Regions from separate parts of the Homo sapiens genome. Here region 2 is linked to region 1. The links are contacts of gene promoters, found by promoter capture Hi-C in blood cells and fetal thymus (Javierre and others, 2016). All regions are on one chromosome and are shown on one strand. The core of a region is centred on a gene start or on the middle of the fragment in contact, and the rest is flanking DNA. Distances in the headings are between cores, read along the strand shown. Region 1 holds the start of WDR75 (WD repeat domain 75). Region 2 holds the start of NUP35 (nucleoporin 35).

Region 1 (4,629 bases), core at 1,829-4,328:
ACATAAACCTACATATGAATGTTTAGAGAAGTATTATGCATAATTTCTAAAACCTGGGGGTAAAACACATTCAACAAATAAACTGTGAAATAGCCATACAATGGAATACCACTCAGCAATATAAAGCACTGATGCACATAACATAAATGCAATATGCTAACTGAAAGAAGCTAGACTGAAAAGGTTACATACTATATGATACCATTTATACATGGCTTTCTGGAAAAGGCAAAACTAGGGATGGAGAACATTAGTGGTTGCCAGGGGATAGGTCTTGGGGAGGGGAAGGAGAAATACTGGGGAATTCTTTGAGGTGCTGGAATTCTTCTGTATCCTATTTGTGATGGTGGATACGATAATTTGTGCATCATAGATATCAAAGAAAGCAGATTTTATTGTATGTAAATTTTTAAAATTAGCCTAATCGTTTCACTTTTTAACACAAAGGCTACACTGTCTTCAATTTCAGAGTAAAACCCAAAGCTGTTACAATGATCTAGGAGACCCTATGAACTGGCCTCTTATTACCTCTCTGACCTCACCTTTTACTATACCCCCTTGATGATTATTCTCCAGCCACACTGGCCTCTTGACTTATCTTGAACATGGAAAGGAATACTCTTTCCTCTGGCTGACTCTTTCACCAAACAGCTCCATGCTTATTCACACTCTCAACCTTTTCAGGTTATTTCAAATGTTACCTTCTCAGTAAGGCTTTCCCTGAAAACCCATAATAAAGGTGATCAAACCCTTATAATCACTTTCTTTTCTACTTTGAGTTTCCCCTTGGCACATAAATACATCAAAAGTATAATAAGTTTTTGTTTCTTCCCATGATAAGGTAAGGTCCAGTAACATACAGATTTTGTTAACTATTTTTCTCACTCCAGTATTCCCAGAGCCTGAAAGAATGTCTGGCATATACTAGGCACTTAGTAAATATTTCCTGGATGGAAGATGCCAAATAAGTGTTTCTGGAAAATCCTTTTCCTTCTGTATATAGGCTATGCTCTTTCTTGCTATTCCCTTATTTCTTCTAACTGAAAGGAACATGAACTGTGAGCATAAGGACAAAACCAATATGGTTAAGGACAATAACACAAAGAACAAAGTAGAGAAAGCACAGGTCCCTGGTGGCATGAATGATCCACTGCACTAGCCCTATTCTGCCTACCTCAGCCTTCTTGTTACATGATAAAGACAACGCACTATTAATTAAACAGCTGTAGGTGGGATTGGTTCCTTAAAAATTATGTAAAAAGAAATCAAAATACAAATGACTTATCTTTCTGGGCACTTCAGTAAATTAAAACTCTGTGTAAAATAATCCTCCTATACATTTATCAATCCAGCTAGTTTTTGTCCATATCAGGATTTCTGATTCTTTTCTGAAAAATCTAAAGTTACCATACAGTAACATACAACTAAAGTCACACTAATTTGAGTGAAAATATTTATTTTGTTTCTTGGCTCAGGCCCTAAGGAAAAGCCTGTATCAGGTTACAAAGTACCCAACAAAGTCTTTAAAAGATTTATTGTGCATACATCAAGAGACTAAACAAAAAGAGGTTAAGGCTGCAGAATCAAAAGTGATATTTTACACTCCATCCACTGTGACAAAGGGTATCACAGTCATGAAAGAGAAAGCTGGTTACAGCTTGAGATAAACCAAAATTATTAAATATCTCCCTTTCTAGTTCTGGCTCCCCAAATAATAAAGTTTTGAGCACTTTAATAAGCTAGACTCCTCAGTAAAAAGTAAATTTATCCCTGATTTTTACAGTGGTGCTGTCCCAGGATATGTCTTGACCTTTGTGAATATTGTATTTCTCCACCATAAATAAACTTATAGGTATAATCATGTGTGGCTTAATGATGGGGATATGTTCTAAGAAATGCATTTTAGGTGATTTCATCATTGTGTGAATATCACAGAGTGTACCTACACAAACCTAGATGGTACAGCCTACTACACACCTAGGCTGTACGTTATAGCTGATTGCTCCTAGGCTACAAATCTGAACAACATGTTACTGTACTCAATATTGCAGGCAATTGTAACAGAATAGTATTTGTGTATTTAAACACATAAAAGGTACAGTAAAAACACAGTATTATAATCTTACGGAATCACCATGTTATATGCATTGATTGAAAGATCCTTATGTGACATGTGACTATATTTGAGACCTTGGTAATTTTGTGGTAAATCCACAAATCAAGAAGCGAAATCAAAATAGGCAACATAATATACAGGGTCCAAGAATATGATACGTGTAAGTTTACAAAGGAAAACTGGAGATAAACTGGCAAAAATAAACATGTTGAGATTTTAGGGGTTCCTAACCCACAGATTCTATTCACTAATGGGAAAAGGTAAAACTCAGGAAACCAGAGACCAGCGCCCTGAAACCTGGCGGGACTGGCCGAATGTCAGATTAGCCCGAGCAGCTACACTGAACGCTGCGGAAGATGCACCAGAATCCCGGAGTAGGAGCCAGATTTCCAAAGGAAGAAAGCTAGGCCCTAGGACTGTGGAGATTCTGTAGTAACCTAAGCGATGTTCACAAGAACAGAAGAACGGCTAATGAGAGGAACAAAAAGCTGTACAAGGAAGAGAAAGCTACCTTTCCACCCAATAACTCAACGCTGCGACCGAGAAAACCAGGGACGCGAGAGGCTCGCGTCATCCTGCAGCGCCGACACCACAGACACTAGAAAGCGACGCCTCCGGTGGGACGACTGGAGGTCACGTGGTACACTATACGCCACCTTTCCCTTCTGGCGGAAAAAGCCATAGAGTCAGGTTGACAAGGCCTGAGAGAAATATGTCTGTATTAAATAATTGTGTATAGGTATATAATAAAAACTGATTGTCTCTAAATCTCTGTTTTGCTTTCACCTTTTCTTACAAGTGTCTTAGTTTGACATTGCCCACACAAAAGGTGCCTGCACGGAAGCGGAGTCCTACCACCGAGTCTCAGGCCTAGAAGGGCCCGGGGGTGGGTTCTGTGGGCTGGGAACAGCCTTATTACCCGGCTCAACGAAGGAAGTTCAGGGCGGGACCAGAGATTGGCCATTCCGCTACTGCGCAAAGATGGTGGAGGAGGAGAACATCCGCGTGGTTCGTTGTGGCGGCAGCGAGTTGAACTTTAGGAGAGCTGTGTTCTCTGCAGATTCTAAGTATGAGGGGCACCGCGCTTTGTCGGCTGAGGGGCGGGGCGTGAGTTTCTCGAGGGTCGGGGAGAAGGAATTGTCAGTCGCGTTCGGACTCGCCCGCCTGGCGGATATCGGCTTTGGGTAGAGCACGCGCCTGTGGGGGATCCCCAGGGTACCTGGGAGGTCCCGTTACCACTGCAGATTGGGTTGCGTCCCCCGATTCCTGGACAGTTTACCTGCAGGTAGATAAAGGCCCTGGAGCCGGTCTCCGTGTCGAGGATCTGGAAGGTGTTCGGGCGGCTGGAAAATGGTCCAGGGGTGGATGTGTATGCCACTACCTTTGCAGTACCTACTCTTTCGTACAGAATCATGTTTTGGAGTGACTAAAACCTAAAACTATTCCGCTTTTTCTACCCACTCCTCACTCCTGAAGCATAGTGCATGAAGCATAGTGCAGTCTTTTCGGAACTTTACATGAAAACAGATGTTAGATTCTTTATGAGATAAAAATACGCTAAGACTTGGTCTCTTTTCTCAGTGTAGCTGGAAACCAAACCACTCCCTGGCTTCAAAATCCACTTCTTACATTATGAAACCTTTGTAAGTTTCTTAATCTTTGCCTCAGTTGCCATCATCTGTAAAGGGGGACAATATTTAGTTCATCTCACGTGGTTATTGGGAGGATTAAATGCCTCAATATGTTAAAACTACAGACAACAATGCCCGGCACATAATGGCTCAATGTATGTAGCTGTAATCATTATTACTGTATTGTCAGGTTTTCAAATAACTTTAGGTAGGGTGGCACTTAATAAAATCAAAAAACCCTTTCTGCCTTAGAAGAGTAGAGATAGTATTTTATGAAAGTTTGTAGCCTCCACAATATTCTTTTTTTTTTTTTTTTTTTTTTTTTTGATGCAGAATCTCACTCTGTCACCCAGGCTGGAGTGCAGTGGCTCAATCTAGGCTCATTGCAACCTCCGCCTCCCTGGTTCAAGCAATTCTGGTGCCTCGGCCTCCTGAGTAGCAAGTATTATAAGCGCGGGCCACCACGCCCGCTAATTTTTGTATTTTTAGTAGAGAGAGGGTTTCGCCATGTTGGCCAGGCTGCCCTGGAACTCCTGGCCTCAAGTGATCTGCCCACCTGAACCTCCCAAAGTGCAGCGATTACAGTGAGCAACTGTGCCCGGCCCACCCCCACAATATTCTGCATATGAGTGTACGACAGGTAGTTGTTGAAGGTAATGCAAGCATGACTGAAAGAGCTTTTATAAATTGCCTTAGAAGCCAAAAAAAAATGAGTCCTGTGGCTTTGTTGACATTGATCTTATGAATCAAAGGAAGAAACAGGCTTTAAGAGGCTGTCACACTGTGACGCTTCGGACTCATATCCATGTAACCAGTACTGTTCTTATACCTTATTCATTATAATGAGGTCCATTGTGTGTTTGATTTGCTAAGCCCAACAAT
Region 2 (5,288 bases), core at 157-2,656, 6.3 Mb before region 1:
GTCTCACTATCTCAAACTCCTGGACTCAAGTGATCAACCCCTCAGCCTCCCAAGGTGCTGGGATTGCAGGTGTGAGCCACCACATCTAGCCTCAATGTGTGTAGAAATTTATACATTGATATACCTTTCTTGGTAGCTTAATTCTAAAAAGTGGATTGCCCTGTGTTGTGGGCTGACTACTCCCCAAAGATATCCATACACTAAGCTTTAGAATCTGTGAATGTTACCTTATATGGCAAAAGGTATTTTGAAGATGTGATTATTAACTTAATCACCTCTACTGAATATTGAAATAGTAAGATTATCCTGGATTACCTGGGTGGGTCCTAAATGTCATCACAAGGCTATGTGATGGCAGAAGCTGAACAAAGCAGTGTCAGACAGACCAAAGATGCTACATCGTTGGCTTTGAAAAAGCAGGAAGGTGGCACAAGCTAAGAAATATAAGTGGCTTCTAGAAGCTTGAAAAAGCAAGGTAATAGATTCTCCCCTGGAGCCTCCAGAAGAAAATAGTCCTTCTGGTACTTTGATTTTAGCCCTACAATACTCATTTTGGATTTTTGGCCTCCAGAACTGTAAGAGATACATTTGTGCTGGTTTAGTTAACCGAGCTTGTGGTACTCCAATGTGACTTTATCTGAACTTTATTACATCTGCAAAGACCCGATTTCCAAATAAGGTCATATTCATAAGTATGAGGGTTAGGACTTGAACATAAATTTTTGAGGGACACAATTCAATTCACACACCCATTTTCAAAAAGTCAATTCGATCTGTGAGTGGTTTTAAAATTTGATTTCTGTGAACCTACCATTTAATTCTGGAATTGTTACTGCCTCATTCCAAAGACAAAATTCTTCCTCCATTTGAGATTTTAGGAAGTCCTAGAAGAAATAGCTGAGCATGGGTGGATATTTTGGAAATAATCCTCATGGTATGGAGCAGAGAACGTCCCCAGTTATACATATGTAGCACATTATTTTATAAAGTTAGTATTTGAGCAAAACTAAACAATATATTTTTACACACACATATGCAGAATATGTGTATGTGATTTACGTATGACTATGCCCTAAAGAAAAGCAGCAAAGTGAGGGGACGTGGACGGCAGGGATGGCACATGCAGAAGCACGCAAGATTCCGCGGTGTGGAGGGTTCGTGGGTGCGTATAATTATCTTCCATTATTTACATGTGTACTTTATGCGTTCGTTAGCTATATTTTTGTATGTTTTAATATGCAACAAAACGGCGTATGAGTTACGCTTTAATGTAAAATTGTCTACATAACACAAAATTTAAAAGAAATGGCATACGGATAGTAGAAAACATGCTTTGAGGAAAAAGCGTCATGTACTAAGTCCAGAAATCGACATTGCAAAGAGGCACCAACTGTTTTCATCAAGCTGACTTTTCCAGGTGCTACTCAGAAAAGCTGACCGATGATAGAGCACTGGGTCAACTCACGCTAATTATGAAACCGTGAGTAAAATAATCTGTGCTTCTATGTAACTTAAGTACCCACAAATCAGGAAGCATTCCCGGATGAAAAGCATTCACAGAACCATACGCTGGTTCGCCACCTTCCCGGTGCAAAAACCCTTTCCTCGGAAATTCTCAGCGCAAAGACTTTGCCCTATTCCAAAATGGCTCCGGCGCCTACAACTTAAGCATAGCGCAGGTCCGGAAGTTACGCAACCCCATAAGGTAGCACGCCGTTACCCGTGGGGAGCGTTTCCGCCATTTTTGAAAATTAATTGGGAAGGTACTGGTTTTAAGTGTAGTTGCCGACGCAATGGCAGCCTTTGCAGTGGAACCTCAGGGGCCCGCGTTAGGTGAGTGAAATATTGCTTTTCCTTGCTGGCACTGCCATCCATGCTCTGGGCCTGGAGGCGGGCAAGACTGAAAGGCAGTCGTCAGGCTCTCGTCTGCTGGTTTCAGTCGCGGAGAGGGAATCCTTGGGTGCCCCCAAGTTCATAGTCGGTCCCCTACTCGACGCGTCGCCTCCATACTGCTACAAAGGTGGCGCCGGGAAGCTGAGGGCCCTGGGAGGGTGAAGAAAAGGCCGTCTGGCGGTGACTGAGCTGTGTTTGTGCCCCCACACGCCAGCCACGTTAGACTGGCCCATACCTTAACCTCCTTCTGATACCCGAGACGCGATGCTGGTTGCTGGATTCCCAGCTGGTTGCTGGTCCCCAGAAGCATCCCTGGGAGGAACTGACCGCGGTACACGTGGGTGGGCGGTGCCCTGAAGTGTGTGGGTGCAGTCCACTGCTTCTTGATCACCGGTGCTTCCAGTTCCTGTTTTGACTCCTCTCTCCCGGGCTTTGCCAAAGGAATCTTGTTATTAATGGAAGCTTGAATCGTGCAACATTTAATCAACCGTGTGGTTGGTAATCATTGAGATATTGACCTTAACAGCAAGCTAGGAGTTCGCACGATATTTCCCGCCTTTATTTGGGGAAAGTGACTCTTAAGTATTGTAGGAGGTATTTTTCTCTAGTAAGTCACGATCTGAATTTTTTTAAAGATTCATTCCCATTATTCATTGCGGAGCCTCGTTGAAATATGTCGTCTTTGAAAAAAATCTACCACTTTAACAGCACGCGGATTTCTTTTTTTCCTGCTGAGTTTTGCGACTTGTGAGAATCGTCGAAAATTTTAGAACGGAAAATAAACCGTCTTACTGTCATAGAGACTTACCTGAAAAGTTAGGTTATAACTTTCTGAGCTTGGAAAAGAGAGCAAATGTAATATATATGGTGTGGAAAGAGTCTTTAGATTTGAAGGGTATGTAATGCTTGCCATGTTTGGTGTAAAATAAGTTCTTTTTGAGAATAGAGTAACTTGAACTACTTTAGTCTGTCATAAAAAAACTAAATGCATAATGTCAATAATGCAGATACTCTGCATTAAAATTTATATATAGATGTCGTCTTGGTATTTATTTTTAATGTATTTTAGAGATCAAAAACTCTTCATTTCCAGTTCCAAATTTTTCTATTCAACAAAAACATTTTGGAGTGCATATTTATTGGGGTTACAAATGTGAGTAAACCAATCCCTGTATATTGCCTTGCCAGAAATCTGACATTAGCCAGTATTAATGTTTAAGTCCACATTTTGCAGATATTCCAGGTGCCCACTGGTGTAGTAAAACTAAGGGTTGACTTCAACAAACTGCTAGCTGAGTACGTATCTTTTGGGAGCACAGAATATGAAATGGAATTGAGGACATGCAGCATCTTTTCCTTAAGTTTGCTTTAAGTGAAATTTAGCCTGAGGGGTGGTTGGTGACAGTCCTGATTAAGAGCCCATTGTGCCCTCCTTCCTGTCTGGTGCTTTCTTTTTTCTTTTCCTTCCTTCTTCCCTCTCTCCCTCCCTCCCTTCCTCTTTTTTGACACAGCCGTGTCACCTGGGCTGGAGTGCAGTCGTGCAGTCTCAGCTCACTGCAACCTCCCCCTCCGGGCTCAAGCAATCCTCCCACCTCAGCCTCCCAGGGGCTGGGACCACAGTGTGCCGCCACTCCCAGCTACTTATTGTATTTTTGGTAGAGACAAGGTTTCGCCATTTTGTCCAGACTGGTCTCGAACTGAGCTCGAGCGATCCACCTGCCTCGGCCTCCCAAAATCCTGGGATTAGAGGCTTGCGCCTTCTACTGTGTCTGTATGTATCCAGATACATCAGAACTTTTCTTAAGCCAATTCTTACTTTATTTTGCTATAATTTTTTTTTCTTTTAGGGAGGGGGAGTGAATGTAGTGAATGTTACCAAAAACTTTGCGTTTAATATGGTATTCTGAATATCTGTTAAGAATATGCTTTTGTTTAGACTTTTGGTTTGATTTTAGTGGATCTTCTTACGAAATATTTCTACAGTGCCATGTAACATAGTAACTAGCACTTTATAAAATAATTACAATGTAATTAGAGTTTTTCACACCTTGTTTTAGCATTTGCTTTATCCATTTATTGAATTTGTTTTTTTTTTTGTCTTTTATACACTTGTATTGTTAATATCTAGGCCTAATATAATGGGAAATAAGAGGAAGACTAAATAGTTGGCAGCTTTCGGATATTAAGAAACAGATTGTTAAGGCCATCTAGAAGTTAAGTAATAGTTAATAAAAAACCATACAAATAACATAGCAAACATTTGACCCTTCTGAGTGCAATGAGTCACACTCAGGCTTGTCACCTAGTTGAAAATTATTTTCATAAGCAGAGATTGCAAATTCTACATTTATACTTTACTCAGTTTTTGCTATTATAAAATATTTGTAGAAAATAATAATTCGTATTTATTGAGCACCTGTGTATCAGGTACCAGGTCAAGCTATACTTGCTATAATTCTAACAAAAGCTCTGTTAGTGGATGCTAGCTATGCTTATTCCCTTTTACTGAGAGAACTTGAACCCACATCTTTGACTCCATAGCCCATTGTTTTCCTTATTCTGCTATTTTGCTCTGAAATTAGAATTATATAGCTCACTCATCTTCATAAGGGAAATAATATCTACTCTATAGATTGTGAGGATTTATTTTGTATCAATTGTGAGGTTTCAGTTCTCTAAGTTGGCTTTATATTAGGGGGATATTTAATGATGATTCTTTAATTTTTTTTTTTTTTTAAATAAAAAAGATGAGATCTCAGTGTGTTGCCCAGGCTGGTCTTGAACTCCTGAGCTCAAGTGATCCTCCTGCCTTGGCCTCCCAAAGTGCTAGGATTGCAGGCGTGAGTCACCATGCCCAGCTGTGATTATTCTTGACTTAAACTAATGATTAAGAAAAAAGATACAAAAATAAGTTTTCGACTCTTTTCAACATGTTTCTGAGTTAGGGTGCTAGTTATCACTGTTATTTTGTAAGTGCTCTAATATATGCATGGTTACGGTTTTATCACAATAATGATGAACTTTTTATGGGGAAGAAAAAGAAACAATTTAGCAAGCTTAACCCATTGTGTTTGATATGCTAAGCTTTGTATGTATAAGTAGTGCAGCCTGTCCTTGTTTTTGGTTGTTACATAGTCCAAACTGATTCGGAAATGGAAAGAAGTTATTAGTGTGATTTTTAAACCCCTGAAATAATGTAAACAAAAATAGCTGTCACAGATAAATATTGTGCTGCCAGGTGTACTGGCTTCACACCTTTAATCTCAGCACTTTGGGAGGCCAAGGCTGGTGGATCACCTGAGCTCAGGAGCTCCAGAGCAGTCTGGGCAGCATGGTGAAACCCCATTTCTGCAAAAAAATACAAAAATTAGCTGGGCGTGGTGGTGCAGGCCTGT

The links. The method cuts DNA at HindIII sites, captures the fragments that hold promoters and counts their contacts. A CHiCAGO score of 5 or more calls a contact.
Region 2: a contact is called between a fragment that was not itself captured here and the fragment with the promoter of WDR75 in region 1, in 1 of 17 cell types (total B cells). The highest score is 5.9, in total B cells.

What each region holds. Positions count from the first base shown.
Region 1 is chr2:189,438,396-189,443,024 of GRCh38, forward strand. It overlaps WDR75 (WD repeat domain 75), which reads left to right and starts at 3,079. Exons shown (of 21, transcript NM_032168.3): 1 at 3,079-3,183. The coding sequence starts at 3,098. It also overlaps a transcript of COL5A2 not described here. RefSeq lists enhancers at 1,945-2,643, 2,415-2,574, 2,595-2,814, 3,075-3,204, 3,225-3,454 and 1 more. The HindIII fragment of the contact is 5,353 bases long and covers 1-4,629 here.
Region 2 is chr2:183,122,665-183,127,952 of GRCh38, forward strand. NUP35 (nucleoporin 35) reads left to right here and starts at 1,779. Exons shown (of 9, transcript NM_138285.5): 1 at 1,779-1,833. The coding sequence starts at 1,794. It overlaps LOC124907917 (a long non-coding RNA gene), which reads right to left and starts at 2,293. Exons shown (of 2, transcript XR_007087331.1): 1 at 2,129-2,293; 2 at 1,253-2,043. RefSeq lists an enhancer at 1,829-2,597. The HindIII fragment of the contact is 1,894 bases long and covers 460-2,353 here.